7 separate regions of the Homo sapiens genome follow, and regions 1, 2, 3, 5, 6 and 7 are each linked to region 4. Evidence: promoter capture Hi-C in 16 types of primary human blood cells and fetal thymus (Javierre and others, 2016). All regions are on one chromosome and are shown on one strand. The core of a region is centred on a gene start or on the middle of the fragment in contact, and the rest is flanking DNA. Distances in the headings are between cores, read along the strand shown. Region 1 overlaps LOC105371775 (a long non-coding RNA gene). Region 2 overlaps LOC105371775 (a long non-coding RNA gene). Region 3 overlaps KRT25 (keratin 25). Region 4 holds the start of KRT33B (keratin 33B). Region 5 overlaps LOC105371776 (a long non-coding RNA gene). Region 6 overlaps KRT26 (keratin 26). Region 7 has its middle 20 kb from the start of KRT25.

What was found. The method cuts DNA at HindIII sites, captures the fragments that hold promoters and counts their contacts. A CHiCAGO score of 5 or more calls a contact.
Region 1: a fragment that was not itself captured here is called in contact with the fragment with the promoter of KRT33B in region 4 in 2 of 17 cell types (M1 macrophages and erythroblasts); the score reaches 5.5 in M1 macrophages.
Region 2: a fragment that was not itself captured here is called in contact with the fragment with the promoter of KRT33B in region 4 in 1 of 17 cell types (endothelial precursors); the score reaches 5.3 in endothelial precursors.
Region 3: a contact is called between a fragment that was not itself captured here and the fragment with the promoter of KRT33B in region 4, in 1 of 17 cell types (erythroblasts). The highest score is 5.9, in erythroblasts.
Region 5: a fragment that was not itself captured here is called in contact with the fragment with the promoter of KRT33B in region 4 in 1 of 17 cell types (M0 macrophages); the score reaches 5.7 in M0 macrophages.
Region 6: a fragment that was not itself captured here is called in contact with the fragment with the promoter of KRT33B in region 4 in 1 of 17 cell types (M2 macrophages); the score reaches 5.4 in M2 macrophages.
Region 7: a fragment that was not itself captured here is called in contact with the fragment with the promoter of KRT33B in region 4 in 1 of 17 cell types (erythroblasts); the score reaches 5.8 in erythroblasts.

The regions. Positions count from the first base shown.
Region 1 is chr17:40,694,845-40,697,544 of GRCh38, forward strand. It overlaps LOC105371775 (a long non-coding RNA gene), which reads left to right. Exons shown (of 4, transcript XR_934751.2): 4 at 2,612-2,700. Among named protein-coding and RNA genes, the nearest start is that of KRT24, 7.6 kb to the right of the region's middle. The HindIII fragment of the contact is 3,749 bases long and covers 1-2,700 here.
Region 2 is chr17:40,677,152-40,679,851 of GRCh38, forward strand. The region is part of intron 1 of LOC105371775 (a long non-coding RNA gene); the gene reads left to right. Among named protein-coding and RNA genes, the nearest start is that of KRT222, 13 kb to the left of the region's middle. The HindIII fragment of the contact is 1,182 bases long and covers 694-1,875 here.
Region 3 is chr17:40,751,425-40,754,128 of GRCh38, forward strand. It overlaps KRT25 (keratin 25), which reads right to left. Exons shown (of 8, transcript NM_181534.4): 3 at 2,436-2,592. Among named protein-coding and RNA genes, the nearest start is that of KRT25, 2.6 kb to the right of the region's middle. The HindIII fragment of the contact is 2,758 bases long and covers 1-2,704 here.
Region 4 is chr17:41,368,318-41,371,084 of GRCh38, forward strand. It overlaps KRT33B (keratin 33B), which reads right to left and starts at 1,496. Exons shown (of 7, transcript NM_002279.5): 1 at 1,086-1,496. The coding sequence starts at 1,433. The HindIII fragment of the contact is 2,505 bases long and covers 101-2,605 here.
Region 5 is chr17:40,813,961-40,816,833 of GRCh38, forward strand. LOC105371776 (a long non-coding RNA gene) reads left to right here. Exons shown (of 4, transcript XR_934753.2): 4 at 1-168. Among named protein-coding and RNA genes, the nearest start is that of KRT10-AS1, 3.7 kb to the right of the region's middle. The HindIII fragment of the contact is 213 bases long and covers 1,518-1,730 here.
Region 6 is chr17:40,768,521-40,771,220 of GRCh38, forward strand. It overlaps KRT26 (keratin 26), which reads right to left. Exons shown (of 8, transcript NM_181539.5): 2 at 2,634-2,700; 3 at 1,733-1,889; 4 at 1,441-1,602; 5 at 1,234-1,359; 6 at 359-576. Among named protein-coding and RNA genes, the nearest start is that of KRT26, 2.3 kb to the right of the region's middle. The HindIII fragment of the contact is 1,403 bases long and covers 597-1,999 here.
Region 7 is chr17:40,733,499-40,736,276 of GRCh38, forward strand. No RefSeq gene overlaps it. Among named protein-coding and RNA genes, the nearest start is that of KRT25, 20 kb to the right of the region's middle. The HindIII fragment of the contact is 590 bases long and covers 1,062-1,651 here.

The sequences.
Region 1 (2,700 bases), core at 157-2,656, 670 kb before region 4:
CCATTCTCATCATTCTTGTGTATACTTCCCTGAGGTGAGAAAGAAAAAACAACCCTGTGAATCTCTGGATTAAAAGTCAACGGGTGAAAACCCATGTGCGAGGCTGGGTGCGGTGGCTCACGCCTGTAATCCCAGCACTTTGGGAGGCCGAGGTGGGCGGATCCCAAGGTCAGGAGTTCGAGACCAGCCTGGCCAACATGGTGAAACCCCGTCTCTACTAAAAATACAAAAATTAGCTGGGCTTGGTGGCGCGTGCCTGTAATCCCAGCTACTCAGGAGGCTGAGGCAGGAGAATCGCTTGAACCTGGGAGGTGGAGGCGAGATCGCGCCGCTGCACTCCAGCCTGGGCGACAAGCGAGAGACTCTGTCTCAAAAAAAACAAACAAACAAAAAAGAAAGCCCATGTGCATGTGGGCATGAGCTCTCCCTTCTTACAGTAAATCCACTCTTAGAAAAAAGAAATGTGTTCCTCTCATTCAAAAGTTGAGGCTGAATGCAGTCGTTCATGCCTATAACCCCAGCCCTTTGGAAGGCCGAGGTGGGAGGATTGCTTGAGCCCAGGAGTTTGAGACCAGCCTGGGCAACATAGTGAAACTCCATCTCTACAAAAAATAAACAAAATTAGCTGGGCATGGTTGCCTGCAGCTACTCAGGAGGCTGAGGTGGGAGGATTGCTTGAGCCCAGGAAGTTGAGGCTGCAGGTGAATCGAGATGGCACCACTACACTCCAGCCTGGGCAACAGAGCGAGACCCTGTAACAAAACAAAGCAAAAAAATTGCCTGGAGAGCTGAACTTTAGGGTCTCACAATAAACATATTCCTATTGTAGAGTTTTAAAATAATTTTAAGGCAAGTAATAATGTATGAACACCATGTCCTTAACTTTTTATTCAGCACTGTAAATACGTTTTATGATCCAAAATGGTTGAATAGTTTCAGTTTTCAAAATTGAACATGCCCTTAACAACACATTCTATTGTGTCTCAGTGTTCTGGTGTCTATGATTGGGCCTTTTCTATATTTGTAAACAATCATTCAGTACAAACGCAGCATCTTAACGCATGACAAGGAAGAACAGATGAGGGTTTTCACCTCGAGATGACTTTCAGAGTAGCCTTATACTTTTGCCTTGACATGAAAATAGTACTAGCCATGAACATAGGTCTCAGGTGGCCAAAATCCACAGCTAGAAGGTTAGACTTGAGAAGACCCACAGAGAGAGGCTTCGCTGATGTGGCCGGGATGGCTTAGGTTCTGCAGGCTGCTTACGGCAGATTTCCATTTCTGCTCTTGAGCTATGAATCCAGTTGGATGAGCTGGTTCAGACTTTTAGTATTTCAGCAGAGAAGAAGCATTCAGGGTTTTATTTATTGTAATGATTTGATGGTGGAAAACAGCTTTGACTTAAGCAACTTAACATTGCTCTTTTTCTTTGAGTAGTGGTTTAATGTTTATTCTGTGGTTAGCTATTAACCTTATTCTGTGGTTAGCTATTTAAGCAGAAGTCATAATGTACCCAGAGGTTCATTTTAAGTTTTATTCAATGTGCCCAGAAGATGAAAAACTACATGTTTTGATGATAGGTTTGATATGCTCACACAATTCTTAATTGGTTTTATATTGGAAGATACATGTTCAGATTTGTCCTTTTATAACTTTACATTTGGCTTTTTATGCCACGTCCCGTGTTCTTTCCTTGAGGACTGGCTTGTAGAGTTGATTCTCTAATTTGTGATATGGGCATATTAAATTCCTTGATTGAGAAAGCCCTTAGCCAGCCTGGGTTGGTGCTATGCCTGGTTCTTCCTGGGGCCCGTACCACCTCCTACCCAATCTTAACAGGTTTCATCATCCCAAACAAGACAAGACAAAGCCATGTGGCCTCAGGGATACTGTAGAAATGAAAGAATAGGGCTATGACCACCAACGGGATGAAAGATCTTAGCAGTGGAGACTGGGGAAAAGAAACACCAGCTTGGCGAAGTGGCAGGTTTTGGCTAAAGATGTGGCTAGATTTGGCAGGGGAACAAGTGCCTGAGGATCTCTTCTCTTTGGGGCTTTCAAGGTTTCAGGAAATCAGATTGCCATATCACATAGCCAATCTTATTTCCCAAGACTCTTTTTTGGCCCCTGTCCTAAATGTCCTGTAAACACACATGTCTGATTCCTATGTCACTTCTGATGCAGATTGTGAAATCAAGTCTTTACTATTAACAGCTTTTTATTGCTTGCTGTCTTCTTTGTGTTTTAGCTCTTCTTCTCTGCTGAAATGTGAGCTTTTTGAAGTAGGAGGGAGATTTTGAGTTTCTTTTTTATCTTATAAAATATCGAGTTCAGTGATGGACATATATAAACTAGACATTAATTATAAGTTGATTATTAAAATAATCACATCCTTCTTTGTGGGCTAAGCCGTTGACACGGTAGTCTAATTTCAGCTATCATGCCACTGAGTTCTTATGTGATGCCATTAAAAATGCCCACATTAAAAAAATGACTATAATCTGAATTGTATAAAGAAGGTAATGTGATACCCTACCTCGTTTTAACCTGATTGTCTCTCTTAGCTGAGAGAGCCGGACAGACTCCATTTTTGTTTCTTCACTTGCAGCTCCCCTCCCTTAAAGGCATAAGTAGTGCAAGCTGACTCCGAGCACATCCAGGAATGCGCTTACTGATGAGATATCGAGGCAAGCTAAA
Region 2 (2,700 bases), core at 35-2,534, 690 kb before region 4:
TTCCCTTGCTTTCAACTTCCCAGCCAGTCTGAGTATTTGAGCACCTTCCAGCTGCTTCACTGTTGTGTCATGCCGGGGGCCATGTTGCACAGCCGCGGCACACATGTATATCCACGGGGACTCCTTTCTGAGCCTACTGGGTGCATAGAAACTGGTGTTCCAGAAGTGTACAGTTGAGTTTTTGACAAAGAGAAATTTTACAAACAAAATTGTGGCTGTACAAATTTTTTTTTAAAATTATATTTTCCCATTGGCTTCACAGAAGAGATAGCACCTGACCTTGGCTATTAAATGCACAGTATTTAAAATATATGGATTAACAAAATTTTATTTGCTCACACCTTTAAGTGGGGTTAAATATACTTGGTAATTGTTTTCTTCTTAACCAGATTGTCCTTAAGGGCAAAGAGTGCGTGTCTTACATTTCTTTAAAATTTGCCCCATTTCCGTCGTCCCACCAGCCCCTTAGACTTAGTGCTTAATGTTTTTAAACAAACAAATGAATATTAAAGTAGGCAATCTTTTATTGACTTTGTATCTTGTCTTGAAAAGGAGTTGATTACTGTTAAAATTCTCTTAAAAATATGTTTTGAGTTCTGGGAATATACATTGCAAGGTTCAAGTTTGTTTTGACTTTCTAATTGTATAATTAGAGAGGAGTAGCTCACTCAGGAATTACTGTTGTGAATGATAAGCTTTTCCTCTTGGATGTGAGGTTGTGTTCAGATTAAAGACACTAATATGGTATACCAGCAATTACACAGTTTAAGGCAACTAAGTTACATCTATAGACCATATCATTTTACATGAATATAATACTTCTATTTCCATAAATAATTCCGAATGCTTGGAGAAAACACTAGTTTTTATTCCCCAAAATCATTGTCTTTGAAACCTCCTTAAATAGCCATAAGACTAGCAACTCATGCCTTGAAAAAGGTAGTCACTGATATCAACACTGTTTGAGAATTGGAAAAACATTTCCAGGACAAGCACAGTGGCTCACACCTGTAAACCCAGAACTCTGGGAGGCTGAGGTGGGAGGATTGCTTGAGGCCAGGAGTTCGAGACCAGCCTAGGCTACACGGCAAGACCTCGTCTCTCCAAAAAAAAAAAAAAAAAAAAAAAAATTAGCCAGGCATGGTGGCACATGCCTATAGTCCTAGCTCCCAGGAGTTTGAGGTTACAGTGAGCTATGGTCTCACCACTGCACTCTAGCCTGGGTGACAGAGCAGGACCCAATTTTGAAAGAAAGAAAGAAAGAATTAATTTCCAGTTCTCTTTGATAAATTCTCAGTGTTAACGACTAAGACAGAATCCATCCTTTTTTCAACTGTATGGTTCTATATGATACCTTTGATAGTTAAGCTATATTAGTTTATTACCATACATTTGGATAGTTAGCAATCAATAAGTTTTGTGCTATCTGTGAAAAATAATCTGGTAGTAAGATAAAAGTGTGCATAACTTATTTTCTGCTTCAGTACTTAACATAGTTACTATTTTCTTGAAGACTGTAGTTTTGTAATACTATGCTCTTTGGTGAGACAAAGCGTTCTGAAATTTGTGAACACTTCTTATTTCCTGGTAATTATTTTTTTTGGCCCCCCCAGTTTGACTTTTCTTTCTTTTTGGCTTCTTATATCACTGTCCCACGTTAAAAAATTTAACAGATTTTAAGATGTCTTTTGGCTTAAATTGCAAACAATTACATTTGAAAATTAATGAACTTCGCGAAATTTAGTCCAGCCTATATGAAAAAGAAAACTGTTGTCAGGGTGAGAATAGATGATTCGTGATTTCAGATTCTGCCACACCTTTACAAATATTTTTCACACTGTTGCCTTCAGAAAAATTCATTATGCTAATCCATCAAGCTTCAGTTCCTTCTTAATTGTTTTTTTCAAACGTCTCTTCTCACTGGTGGCTTGGCGCCATCTCTCACTGCTGACTTCAGAAATGAAATGTGATGATATGCTGACATACCAGTGTCACAAGCTTTGTTACCTTTGAAAATCATTATCTTTGAAACTTCTGCAAGTAGCCACAAAACGAGTGACTCATACCTTTTTTATTTTTTTCCAACTTTTATTTTAGAATCAGGGGAGTCCATGTGCAGGTTTATTACCAGGGTATATTGTGTGATGCTGAGGGTTGGGGTACAAGTAATCCCATCACCCAGGTACTGAGCATAGTACTCAACAGTTAGTTTTTCAACCCTGTTCCCCTCCCTCCTGTGCCTCATACCTCAAAAGAGATGGTCATTGAAGTCAGTACTGTTTCAGAATTAGGAAAACATTTTCAGTTGTCTTTGAGAAATCCTAAGTGTCAATCTTAGAGCTTGAGGAAACAAACAAACAACAACCAGAATTCACCACTTTTTCAACTGTGTGCTTTTTCTTTGATACCTCTGATAATTTAGCTATGTTACCTTATTACTGTACTTGCATGTTGTAAATGATCAATACATGGTTTTTAAATTGAGTAGGGTATCTACAAGACACACTTAACTGCATAATTTGTGTCTAAATATGTCATGTATGTATTTTTTTTGTGTGACTCACTTATAGAAAGGACTTCCCTGTTGTGGTTCTTCGGTTGAGATAATTAACACCTCAAAATATCATATATAGTTCTGAATTTCTAGAGTTTTATTAGTTGTAAAGTGATTTTAGAAATGCACTCTGATTCTAAATGTTT
Region 3 (2,704 bases), core at 88-2,587, 620 kb before region 4:
CCTCCCAGGCTGTGCATTGACCCCCTCCCACCACATTTGATACTTCCTGTCCCGTTGACCTAATTCTCAAAGACGGTGAACTCACTACCTTATGAAGTAGCCTGTTTCATTCTGGGAGAGTTTTAATTGTTCCAGAGTTCTTTATTATAGTGAGCCAAACTCCTGCTCTTATAACTTAAACTCATCAGTTTCAGTTCTACTACTCAGAATGCATCTTAATTCCTTTTCCATATGAAAGTTTTAAACATTTAAAATGAATGGTCCTCCATCGCTTATTCTATTCTCGGCCTTTGTGGACTGGTCTTCCTTCCACTAGAGGCCAGCTTTGGTGCAGTGTTAACTCAGCTACACCCTGAGCACAGCCATGAACATGGTTGAAGGGTTGAGTATGAATAATTCTGAACAATTGAAATGATGATAAATAAATAAATGTATGTGTGTGTGTGTGTGTGTGCGTGCGTGTGTGTGTGTGTGTGTGTGTGTGTGTGTACCCCTCAGGGAAGAACATCATCCCCTAAAGAATCCCAGCTGTCTATTAAGTCTATACAGGGACATTACAGTATCATGTTGGACTTTGGAGTCACGCAGATCTCTCTGAATTTTGGTTCTGCCCTATAGTGGCTAGTGAGTTTGGGAAAGTTGCTTAACCTTTTTACGTTTCTATTTGCTTATCTGAAAATTGAGGATAATTAAAAACCCTTCTCTGAGTTGTTAAAAGAAGTCAAAGAACTAATAATAATAATAAGACTCCGTGATACTGCCTTGCACATAAATGCTAAATGAATGCTGGTTATTATGATTATTATCATCATGGAAGCTGGAATTTATTTTGCAGTCAAAGTCTACATGTTACCCTGTCTGAACTGCAAGCTGTTAGAATGTGTGAGTCAGTTCTAAGATTGTGAATGGTAGGCATCGCTGCGAAGACTGTGTATATTGGAATACCACCCATCAGCTTATGTCTGCTGCAGAAACTCTCCTCCCCATTCATGAATTGGTCTTAATGATGGTAACTAAGGCTTTCATTCCTCCCTGCAGCGAGCCCCTCAGCCATTCCAGCCTTCTTTCCTCCTGGTTGAAACTATGTCTTCCTGATCTACAGATGTGGCTTTTACTTCTGAGGATTTAGTGAAAACTTCCTGGTTCAAGCATAAAAAGAAAAAGATAAAAAAAGATATATGTATATCATCTATATCTATATATCTATATCTATATCTATATCTAGGGTTGCCTGTAAATGAGGCATTACAAAAATCAATTGCTTTTGATTCATCAAAAATTGATTAAACACCATGGGCTGTAACTATATTTGAATCCACGTAGTCAAATCAATGTTATTCAAGTAGTTATATTTATAAGACAGCCTCATGACTAATCAAGTAGGATTCTTAGCTTGATCTTCTGTTTTAAGCATTTGGCTTGACCATAGAAGTCTTTTGGCTATTTAAAATATCAAATTTATTTTCAAAGGATAAAGATTTTTCCCTTTTGGAAAACAGTGCCTCTGAAAGCAATCCTAAAGATGTAATTGCTGCAATATAAAATTTGGAACTTAGCTTCCAACAGTGACCACTTTGGAAGTTTATGATTAAGTGTAAATTCTGGTATAATAGTTTAACTTCATGCTCATTATTTTTACAGCCAGACCTATTAAGAATATGTACTAGCGTTAAGTATGTATACTTAATGTGTGTATGAAGTAAATGTTTTAGTGTTTTAAATCTGCCACTGTCATTTAGAAATTGAGATCTAGTTTTCTAGTTTAAGGATGGCCTTAAAGTATATTTATTTTATATTTATTTTATCTAATTAGACTTAATGTCCAAAGCGGATCATTTTAACTTAGTTATAATTACACAGCCAAACACTGCTCTTATAACCCTGATTGGTCTGGAAAACATGATTCGTTTTTTTTTTTCCCCATAGGAAACTTGATGAGAGAGCAAGGGTGAATCTGTACAAAGAATCTGACACTTAAAAAGACAGCTCAGGCCGGGTGCGGTGGCTCACGCCTGTAATCCCAGCACTTTGGGAGGCTGAGGCAGGTGGATCACGAGGTCAGGAGATCGAGACCATCCTGGCTTACACAGTGAAACCCCGTCTCTACTAAAAATACATAAAATTAGCCGGGCGCCTGTAGTCCCAGCTACTCGGGAGGCTGAGGCAGGAGAATGCCGTGAACCCAGGAGGCGGAGCTTGCAGTGAGCCAAGATCGCACCATTGCACTTCAGCCTGGACGGCAGAGCGAGACTCCGTCTCAAAAAAAAAAAAAAAAAAAAAAAAAAAAAAAAAAAAAAAAGACAGCTCAGCCCTCATGTCTGTCTGACAATGTGTCTTCAGCACCAACTTTTTATATGAGAGGTTATGTACATTATCTCCTGTCAGGTGCACAGTGTCTGCGGAGGGATAGCAAAATGTAGACGACCAGCTCTTACCTCTTTATGGTTCTTTTTGAGGTAAGTCATCTCCTCACTCAGGGTTTCATACTGAATCTCCAGATCTGTTCTGCACAGGGTTATTTCATCCAAAACTCTTCGTAACCCATTGACATCAGCCTCTACACTCTGGTGAAGAGCCAGCTCATTTTCATACCTTAAAGAGTGTTAATGATTTCCTAATTTGTCACATGGTTGGAGACATAGTCACTAGTCACTGATCAATGACAAATGCTAGCATTCTGGAATTTTGAAGATTTGGCCACAAG
Region 4 (2,767 bases), core at 246-2,745:
ATCCCAGGCAAGCCAGAACAACTTGGTTATCCAACACATTCCACCTGCTAACTTCTCTCCACTCTCCCCTCATATTGCCCTTGTTCATGCCTTTGCAAAAAGCTTCTTGCTGTACCCAGAATGCCCTCACCCACTAGCAAGACCCCTTGTGTAACCCACATACTTAATCAATAACACTTCTTATGACCTTTGTGTGATCATTTTGTTTCCACATCTATCTCCCCTGTTAGACTGTGAGCTCCTGAAGGAAGGAGACTGTCTTACTCAGTACATTATCCCCCACCCCAGCACTGTGCCTAACACTCTCCAACTCTGGGTAAATAAATGAATGATATTCAAATAGCACAACCCCTTTCTGGCATCTAATTTTCCAGATCTACAGAACAGTGGGCAGTCAATTCCCTCCCAGAATCAAGGGCTTGTACAATTGGATATAAACTCCCACTCATCCTTCAAACCCCACTCAGACATTGCCTCTTCTGGGATCCCTCCCAAACCTACACCAGGTATTCAGTCCCAATTCTCTGTGGACTCTTTACTTATATCTACTTCTCTTCCAGAACAGATGGCCCCATATTGTCATCTGTACACATGGCTGCTCTAGAGGATGGTCCATGTGTCTGTAGATATTGCTGGAGTCAACAGCTCTCTTGTGTTGCCATAAATGCTATATTTTGCTACAGCTTTGAAAGGCTTTAAATATTTGAAGATTTACTTAGGAAATTCTTAGCATAGAAAATAATTCAGGTGCATACTTTTTGAAAATGCGGTAATGCTCTGAAAACAAAACCAGGGTATCATAATCAAACCAAAAAATCAGATATTCTGGTTTGGAGTAAGACGCCATATAAGATTGCTATGACTGATTTTGGTCTAATGCTTCACTCTAACACCAGCCTGCATCCTTCCTTTGTGGCTCTACAACAGATTTTCTAAGACTACTTGATGTCATACCTAAGCCAGTGAATCTATGTCTTTATCATTCTCAGCATTACTGTGAACAGACTTAGATCCATTCACAGTTTAGTATGTCAAATATAGATAAGTAGTTCATTAAGCTGGCAGTGTGGTGCCCACCTCCTCACCTTCTGCTGGAGCTCCTCAATGGTCTTGAAGTAGGACTGGTAGCTGGGGCACAGCAAGGGCTCCTGCTGCTGAGACCGCTCCCGGATGAGGTTCTCCAGCTCCGCGTTGTCCCGCTCCAGCTGACGCACCTTCTCCAGGTAGCTGGCCAGGCGGTCGTTCAGGAACTGCATAGTCTCCTTCTCGCTGCCATTGAAGGAGCCCTCGCAGAACCAGTTGCAGTTGCTCACATTGGCAGGGATGTTGCAGGCCCCGGGCAGGGTGTAGCCGTGGCAGCTGGGGGGCACACAGGGCCGGGAGGAGCAGCTGGTGCGGCAGCTCAGGCTGGGCAGGCAGAAGTTGTAGGGCATGGTGCAGGGAGGCAGTGGAGCTCTGGAAGTCAGTTTCAAAACCTGATTCCTTTTCCCTGGGATAAGCCTTGGTCCTTTCCAGGGCTTTATATTCTGTTAGCAGTGGGTGTGGCAACCATGTCAAGTATTCCTCCTTTTTACCTCCTTTGCTGATTTTTCCATTTGTTATTTAGCCACTTCACCTGAGTCCTATACCTCATTAAATGTTTTACTCTGGCTTCTTGCTAAGTCAGGACTCCTCACAAAACATGCTGATTGGTTAAGTAAGAGCTTCATGGTTTGGCTTCAAAGTGACCAACCTTGCCTGTAGCAGTGCTTATCCATGGGACATTGAGCTAGAGTGACAGCTGGGCCCTGTCCCCAGAGTAGGGGGCACATATGTGCCTCTTTCTCCTAAATGAGGAAAGGCTTGTGTCTCATCCAGTTCATATTCAATTAAGACTCTGTGAGAAAAGCCATGTAAGGAAACCCGTCTAGAAACTAGACTATGTGATAGGGAATCCTGGAAGCTGAAATGAGAAAGGACTTACAAGGCCATTGGTTCAAGGCCCATTTGCAGTTCCATCCAGGCAGATGGAGGCAACTCTACCCTCTTCCTATGGGGCTGCAGGAAGCCACCCACCTCCGTTTCTACTAGTATTCAGTGTTCACAGAACATTAAGAAACCTAAATTTTGGGAGCACCTACTCTGCATGAAGCACTGTGCTCCATGCCTGTGCACAGCGTGACTCTGTCATTGGTGATGGGTCCTGCTTGCTGAGCCTCCACTGTGCACCAGGCACAGTGCCAGGCACCTCATATGCACCAGCTCCTTCAGTCCTCTCAAAATGCTGCAAGGGTTTGTAGATAAGGACCCTAAGCCTCTGAGAGGTCTCCCAAGGTCACAGAGCTCCTACATGATGGAGCCAGGGTTCAAATACAGATCTCTCTAATTCCAATGTCCACACTCTGTCATATTACATGTCTCTCTCTTCCAATCTTTTCAGTACTGAGATGCAATAATGCAAAAAATACAGATTGAGCTCCATTGAGCTCAATCAGTGCTGACAATATCCTAAATTAGAATGGGCCAAAAAATAACAAGCCTGTTTTTTACTTATTAAAGAACCAAAAGTCACTTCTATGCTGAAGGAAGGAAGTTTACTAAGTGAAAATGCCTCATACCCACTAGAAGCTTGAAAAAAAAAAAAAAAGGAAACCCTTGGTTGATCTGAGGGAGAAATACCCAAGCCTAGCTCTCCAAAGGATATGACCCTGAAAATCCACCACTATGTCATGTGCATGAAGTGGCATTTTATGACCATTGGCACATTTTGGCAAGCAGATGCTCTACT
Region 5 (2,873 bases), core at 374-2,873, 550 kb before region 4:
ATGAATGGATAAAGTAGACGAAGATCAAGCGTTGTCTTTCTGGAGTGTACCGTCTAGCAGGGGAAAAGGATGACTAATAATGAATACATTGTATAGTAAGTTGGAAACAGTGCTGTGAAAAAAAGAAAAAGTGGAAAACCTAGGCAATACCATTCAGGACACAGGCATGGGCAAAGACTTCATGACTGAAAAACCAAAAGCAATGGCAACAAAAGCCAAAATTGACAAATGGGATCTAATTAAACTAAAGAGCTTCTGCACAGCAAAAGAAACTATCATCATGGTGAACAGGCAACCTACAGAAAGGGAGAAAATTTTTGCAATCTACCCATCTGACAAAGGGCTAATATCCAGAATCTACAAAGAACTTAAACAAATTTACAAGAAAAAAACAACCCCATCAAAAAGTGGACAAAGGAAATGAACAGACTTCTCAAAAGAAGACGTTTATGCAGCCAACAGACATATGAAAAAATGCTCAACATCACTGGTCATCAGAGAAATGCAAATCAAAACCACAATGAGATACCATCTCACACCAGTTAGAATGGCGGTCATTAAAAAGTCAGGAAACAACAAATGCTGGAGAGGATGTGGAGAAATAGGAACGCTTTTACACTGTTGGTGGGAGTGTAAATTAGTTCAACCATTGTGGAAGACAGTGTGGCAATTCCTCAAGGATCTAGAACTAGAAATACCATTTGACCCAGCGATCCCTTTACTGGGTATACATCCAAAGGATTATAAATGATGCTACTATAAAGACATATGCACACGTATGTTTATTGTGGCACTATTCACAATAGCAAAGTCTTGGAACCAACCTAAATGTCCAGCAATGATAGACTGGATTAAGAAACTGTGGCACATATACACCAGGGAATACTATGCAGCCATAAAAAAGGATGAGTTCATGTCCTTTTCAGGGATATGGATGAAGCTGGAAACCATCATTCTGAGCAAACTATCACGAGGACATAAAACCAAATACCACATGTTCTCACTCATAGGTGGGAGTTGAACAATGAGAACACATGGACACAGGGTGGGGAACATCACACACCTGTTGTGGGGTAGAGGGCTGGGGGAGGGATAGAATTAGGGGAAATACCTAATGTAAATGACGAGTTAATGGGCGCAGCCAACCAACATGGCACACGTATAACTACGTAACAAACCTGCACATTCTGCACATGTACCCTAGAACTTAAAGTATAATAATAATAAAAAAAGTGGAGCAGATAGGGGAGTTGGGAGATTGGCAGGTAAAATTTTAAGCGGAAAATCAGAGTGGGTCTCAAAGAAAAAGTGACAACTGTGCAAAGGCTTGAAGGAGGTAAGGAAGACCATCTTGTTAAAGAATATTAACCAAGGTAACATCAAAAGAGAAATGGAGAGACATCAAAGAATTTTGATCAAATATAATTAGACTTACAATTTGATCTAATATATTAGACTTACATTTTAAAAGGATAACTATGGTTCTGTGTTGAAAATAAACTGTAGGGTAGTAGCTAAGCTTAAATGAGTTCATATACATGTTATATGTACTGAGTCTACCTACCTATCTGTATCTATCTATCTATCTATCTATCTATCTATCTATCTAATCTATCTATCTATCCATCCACACATTTACCCACCTACCTACCTATCTATCCATCCATCATTTACTCAGAACAATGCCCGGTGTGATTTAAAGGCTATTATTATCATTATTTTCATTGTCAAGCTTAGTTTAACCACAACTACCTCATATAAGGTAGCTATCCCTTATTGTATAGGTAAGTAAACAGACTCAGAAGGGTTGAAGTAACTTGTCCAAAGGTACATAATTTGTAAATGCCAGTGCCAGGATAGGAAGTCCAGGGATCACTGTGTTTCAGTTGCATGCTCATAAACCATGAATAAGCTCTTTCCCTAATTCCCATTCTCAAAATGCAATATAGATGAGAAATATTAGATGCATCCTATTTAACCTTAATCGAGTTACTTCCCTGATAAAGATGACCCTAACAAAGCTATTTCTTCACTCCCAAGCAAAATATCAAGCCATCATGGGCACCAAGATTAGGGTGCAAAGCTTTTAGGCCTTTAGCATCATAAGAGAACATCTTTGGGGAAACAGGATTTTATCGTGTAATATTTTTTGACATGGGTGCCGAATTGGCTCTGCCAATCTAATTAGGCACTACCCTGCTTAAATAGCAGGATTCTGTAATGACTTTAGAATCTGTAAGAATGCATACAGAATTTTTTGATTAATAGGTACATGCAAATTTATTTGGTAAAAATAGTGCCCTGTGCTATTTAATAATTTTTAAAAATAATTCTGTAATTTTTTTTACTATAAATACCAATGTCCTTATTAAAGACAAGTGGCTTATTTAGACAGATTATCTTTATTAAACCATAGTGTTGGGCACTGCGGCATGTGCCTATAATCCCAGCTACTCAGAGACTGAGGTGGGAGGATTGCTTGAGCCCAGTTCAAGACTAGCATGGGCAACACAGTGAGACTTTGTCTCATTAAAAAAAAAAAAAAAAAAGCAAAAACAAACCATAGTTATCCAAGTCCAATCAAGAAAGCAGCTGTTTATCTGAGATAAAGTATTTACTTTATCAGAGAGAATATAAATAATTGTTTAAGGAGGTATTGCAAGATTGAAATGGTAAGAAGACAGGACCACGATGTATGCAGACTTTTCAGGAATGAAAGTTTGGGTCACCATCCAACCACATAGAGGACTCTGACTGCTAAGATTGTGGCCTGGGGGAGGAGGGCAGAATGGGTAGAAGAGACAAACTTAACAGCAAGCACTGCTATCTCATAGTAACATATGTGTACTTGCCTCGTATCAGTGGTATTGAAT
Region 6 (2,700 bases), core at 48-2,547, 600 kb before region 4:
TGTGGGGTAACTAGTGAAGTGATAAGAAAAGAGAATGAGTTATTTATAAGAAATGTGCTTACACACTAAATCACAGAAAGCAATTTTCCCCTTGAATTGGAGTACTGGAATTGTTAAATATTCTATATTTAAATGTCCTTTATATATTATACATACAAATATTTTGCATACTTAGAAATTTGATTTTCAAATTTCTGCATGTTTTAATTTCACTTGGCTGCAATAATATACATTCCTGAGGATAAATATGTATGATCTCCAGAGTAGGAAATTCTAGGATGCAATATTGGCATACCTATACTGTGGGAAAACCTAGTTAATGTGAGGTTTTTTTTTTTTTTTGCAAGTTAATCTTTACCTTTCTTCTCCATCTAGTAAGTTGCAATAAATGTCAATTTCTTTTTCTAAAAATATTTTTACATCAAGAAGCTGTTCATACTCCAGCTTCTGGCCTTCTGTTTCTGTTCGAATCTGTTGCAGTTGTTCCTCCATCACCCCTATCTGATCCTGAATTTGCTGGAGTTGATTGCAGTAATTTCCTTCAGTCTCAGCCAAGGAGCATTCATAGGAATGTTTCTGAAAGAAAAGCAAAGTGAAGCTTGAATGTGTAAAAGAGAAATGGCATGGTCATCTTATATTATTTTATTTATTTTTTTGAGACTGTGTCTTGCTCTGTCACCCAGGCTGAGTGCAGTGGCATGATCTTGGCTCACTGCAGCCTCTCTTCCTGTGTTCAAGTGATTCTCCTGCCTCAGCCTCCTGAGTATGTGGGATTACAGGTACATGCCACCACACCCAGCTAATTTTTATATTTTTAGTAGAGATGGGGTTTCACCATGTTGGCCTGGCTGGTCTTGAATTTCTGACCTCAAGTTATCCACCTGCCGTGGCCTCCCAAAGTGCTGGGATTACAGGTGTGAGCCACTGTGCTTGGCCGGCATGGTCATATTTTAAATATTCTCAAGGTAGAAATAATTATTTGTATAAGGTCTGAATATTTTCAATTGAAAATCAACATTTGCAAGATTTAAAAAAATTCCTCTATTGTAAAAAGGCATTTTTCAAGTTTTGGAATTGGTGAGTTTAGGGACAGAATTCTTGATATTTAATATATTTTATACTTTTAGTCATATGTAAATGGTTATACGTACTTGGTGTTATATGTATTTTTATATCTGTATTGACTTATACATATTCACACATATATTCAATTCAATGGCGATTCCTACGTACCACAGCCATGAGGGACTGAAGTTCTATTTCCAGGGTTTGCAGATTGCGTTTTAATTCGGTCAGCTCATTTCTGGCTGCTGTGGCTGCTCCCTCATGATCGGAAATCTGTTGTTGCAGCGTTGCACTCTGAAGTGTAATTGTCGAAAGGGTTAGTGACTGGCCTGATTGTCTCCTGAGCAAGCCCTTTGTAATTTGCCATAGACCTACCCTCTCGTTGAACCAGGCTTCAGCATCTTTGCGGTTCTGCTCAGCCAAGTCCTCATACTCAGCCCTCATGTTGTTCAACAGGACAGTTAGGTCCACTCCTGGGGTTGCATTCATCTCCACGTTCACGTTCCCCCCAGCTGTATATTGCAAGACTTCCATTTCCTAGAAAAGGGATCGGTATTCATCCTCAGTGGAGGATTTTGATTGATGTTCATGCCCTGCTACGAAATGAACAGTGGACTTCAAGAAGGAAATTAGAAACTGTATGAAGCCACTCTGCAGGCTTCCTTACCTCCTCATGACTTTTTTTGAGGTAGGTCAATTCCTCACTGAGGGTCTCACACTGTATCTCCAGGTCGGTTGTACAAAGGGTCAGTTCATCCAACACTCTGCGAAGACCACTGGTGTCGGCCTCAACACTGTGGTGCAGAGCCAGCTCATTTTCATACCTGAAAGATTAGTAAGGCACCTGAGAGTTGTCATCGTAGGCAGGTGCAAAGCACAACTTTTTAAGGTATTTCATATGCTGAAAGATATGATGTTCTGTACATACCTCTGAAGCTTCTTGCAATGGCAAACTGCTAAAATGGTTTGAGATACCTAACAATTCATGAATTGTATTTTGGGGATGTTATTTCTTCAGAGCTGATTTTTGTCATCCAATGTGCTTAACAATTAAATAAAATATTGCTAGATTTTAGATTTTAAAAAATATGTGATTGCTCTTTTTTGTTGTTTGTTTTTGAGACAGTCTCACTCTGTCACCCAGACTGAAGTGCAGTGGCCCCATCTCAGCTCACTGCAACCTCCACCTTCCGGGTTCAAGTGATTCTCATGTCTCAGCCTCCCAAGTAGCTGGGATTACAGGAGTGAGCCACCATGCCTGACTATTTTTTTGTGTGTGTACTTTTAGTAGAGACGGGGTCTTGCCACATTGGCCAGGCTGGTCTCAAACTCCTGACCTCAAGTGATCTGCCTGCCTCAGCCTCCCAAGGTGCTGGGATTACAGGCATGAGCTACTCTATCCAACCATGATAGCTCTTTTTATAACGGCTTATTTAATTCAATTTCTTTATTGATCTAGTCTGGCTTTAGAAAAACATTTTGGTTTTCAAAGCAAAATATATATTCCTTAATCCAATTGTAATATTTTAACTTTTATTAATATAATTAATCAGTTTGTTTTCACCTACTTCAGCCTGAAGTCATCAGCGGTCAGTCTGGCATTGTCATTTTGTAGAACAATGCTGGCATTGCAGA
Region 7 (2,778 bases), core at 107-2,606, 630 kb before region 4:
TAATTTTTGTATTTTCAGTAGAGACGGGGTTTCACTGTGTTGGCCAGGCTGGTCTTGAACTCCTGACCTCGTGATCTGCCCTCCTCGGCCTCCCAAAGTGGTGGGATTACCGGCATGAGCCACTGTGTGCAGCTTTTTTTTTTTTTTTTTTTTTTTTTTTGACTGGGTCCTGCTCTGTTACCCAGGCTGGAGTGCAGTGGCATGATCTCGGCTCACTGCAACCTCTGTCTCCTGGGTTCAGCCATTTCTCCTGCCTCAGCCTCCTGAGTAGCTGGGATTACAGGTGCCTGCCACTGCGCCAACTAATTTTTGTATTTTTAGTGGAGATGGGTTTTCACTATGCTTGCCAGGCTGGTCTCGAACTCCTGACTTCAGGTGATCTGCCTGCCTCAGCCTCCCAAAGTGCTGGAATTACAGGCATGAGCCACCATGCCCAGCCCAAGAGAACTCATTTTAAGGAAGGATGGACTCCATTATGAGCTGTATGTGACGACAGAGCCTAGATGTCCAAGGGTATGGAGGGCTTGAGTGTGGGGTGCTCATGCATGCTGGCAGTTGGGGGTAGGACTTGTAGGGGATGAATGTGCTGAAGTGAAACTCCGTACTATCTTGGGGCTCTGCACAGGAGACCTCTTCTGCAGGAAAGGGTTAACTCAGCAGGCTTGGGGTGTTTAGATCTTGCACATACCAAAGAAAGGCGTAGCCCTTACCCAGCTCTTGGGGAAAAAGCTCTCAGCTTTGGAATATTCTGCCTGATAGGAGTGTCTTTGTATACCTGGGGCTTTAGGCCACGGCAGAGAGTTTATGCTAACAGTGTGACTTATAGTGGCGTTCTTGGGCTACGCTGTATCAGTTTGACTTCTGGAGGGGCTGCAGACTGAGTAACTGAGGTGAACCATGTGGGCGTCCCATACCTAAGTGACTGACCCCCAATAAAAACTCTGGACACCAAGGTTTGGGCAAGCTTCTCTGGTTGACATTACTATGTATGCATTGTCACACATCATTTCTGGGAGAATTAAGTGCTGTTTTTTGTGACTCCATGTGAAAGAACAATTGGAAGCTTATGCCTCGTCTCTCCTGGACATGGCCCTATGTGCCTTTTGCCTTTGCTGATTTTAATGTGTATCCTTTTACTGTAATAAACCATAACCATGAGTATAACATTTTTCTGAGATCTGTGAGTCCTTCTAGTGAACCATTGAAATTGAGGATGGTCTTGGGGGCCCCAACATACCCCTATAGAATGGAGCTCAGAAAAAGTAGAAGGGTGTTTCTTTTCTCCCTTTTTGGATAGAAACTTCCAAGTAATTGTAGCATATCATGAGACTTGAGAGTATCAGTGGCCTAGTGCAGAGCATTAAATTATAGTGGAAAAGACTGGTAGCCAGAGGTTTTGTATGTAGTTTTTTATAGGTGGCAACTAAATAACTAGAAAAATTAAATTAGTGCATCAATGTTAAGAAGACTTCATGGATCCCTGTAAACTGGTGGAGAGTGAGGACTTCTGGTTATGTTTCAGTTACTAAATCCTCTAGGTAATTTACAAATTATAGCCATGCTCTCTTAGGTATATAAATATACCTCTTTCCATATTAAGCAGAATGCCCTCAAGAACCAATGTGGTTACATTTTTCTTCCCTTTTTGGAAAGCTTTCAATTACTTCCTACCTTTGACACTAGTTCAGGCATGTTAACCACCTTGCCACATAGAACCTCCCATCTGAGCAGGAAGGTTTAGGCTGCAATGAGTGCCGTGTTCCTGCAGGTATAAGTATCACAGAGGACAGGATTAGGAACAGTGCTCTCTGTATGTTCTTTGTAGACTTGCCATTTTGGCAACACAGTCATTGGAACTAGGTCATTTTCTCCTGAATATTTTTGTTTTAATTGGCTAATTTATTCAACTCATTGTCTGAGTCTTATGGTAAAGTAGGGAGAATTGTCATTCACCTTTAAGAGGATTGATAAGGCTGGGCGTGGTGGCTCATGCCTGTCCCAGCACTTTGGGAGGTTAAGGAGGGAGGATTGCTTGAGCCCAGAGATTTGAGACTAGACAAGGCAACATAGGGAGACCCCATCTCTACAAAAATAAATAAATAAGTAAGAGAATTGATAAGATGAAATCTCTCATTCTTCTTACTAGAAATGCCTCTGAATCAACCACTTCTCATGGGGCATTAGTTTCCTCAAGGGGAAATGACACGGACTAGTCTCTAAGCTCTCTTTTATCTTTAAACTTCTCTGATAACATACAATTAATTTTTAAATTTTTATTTCCTTTTCACCGTAGTAGCTACATTGATTGAGGGTTTAATATGAACCAGACACTCTCCAAAGCGCATAGATTAGATATTTAATCATCACACCAACTCTCTGAATAGGTGTTAATATTATTATCACCATTTTACAGGTGAGGAAATTGAGAGACAAGGTAATCAGATAACTTGCCCAAGAAAACACAGCTAGAAAGGGGTAGAAATAGTTTTAAATCCAGAAAATTCGAGGCTTGTTCCCTTAACCACTCTTCAGTGTTGCCTTCTCTGACAAGTAAGGGACTACATTTTCTTTAGCTTGATATATTCCTTTGATGCATTAATAAAATGAATTAGAGGAAAAGGTCCAAGCCATGGTGCTCTGACCTGCTCACTGAGGCTGGAACCACTCAGCTGTAGTCTGAATCCTCATAGGACTACCGCTCCTGATCACATTCTCATGCCCTGGAAATTGATCACCTGGAATTGTGGAAATAGTTCTATGTACAACCACTAGGCCATT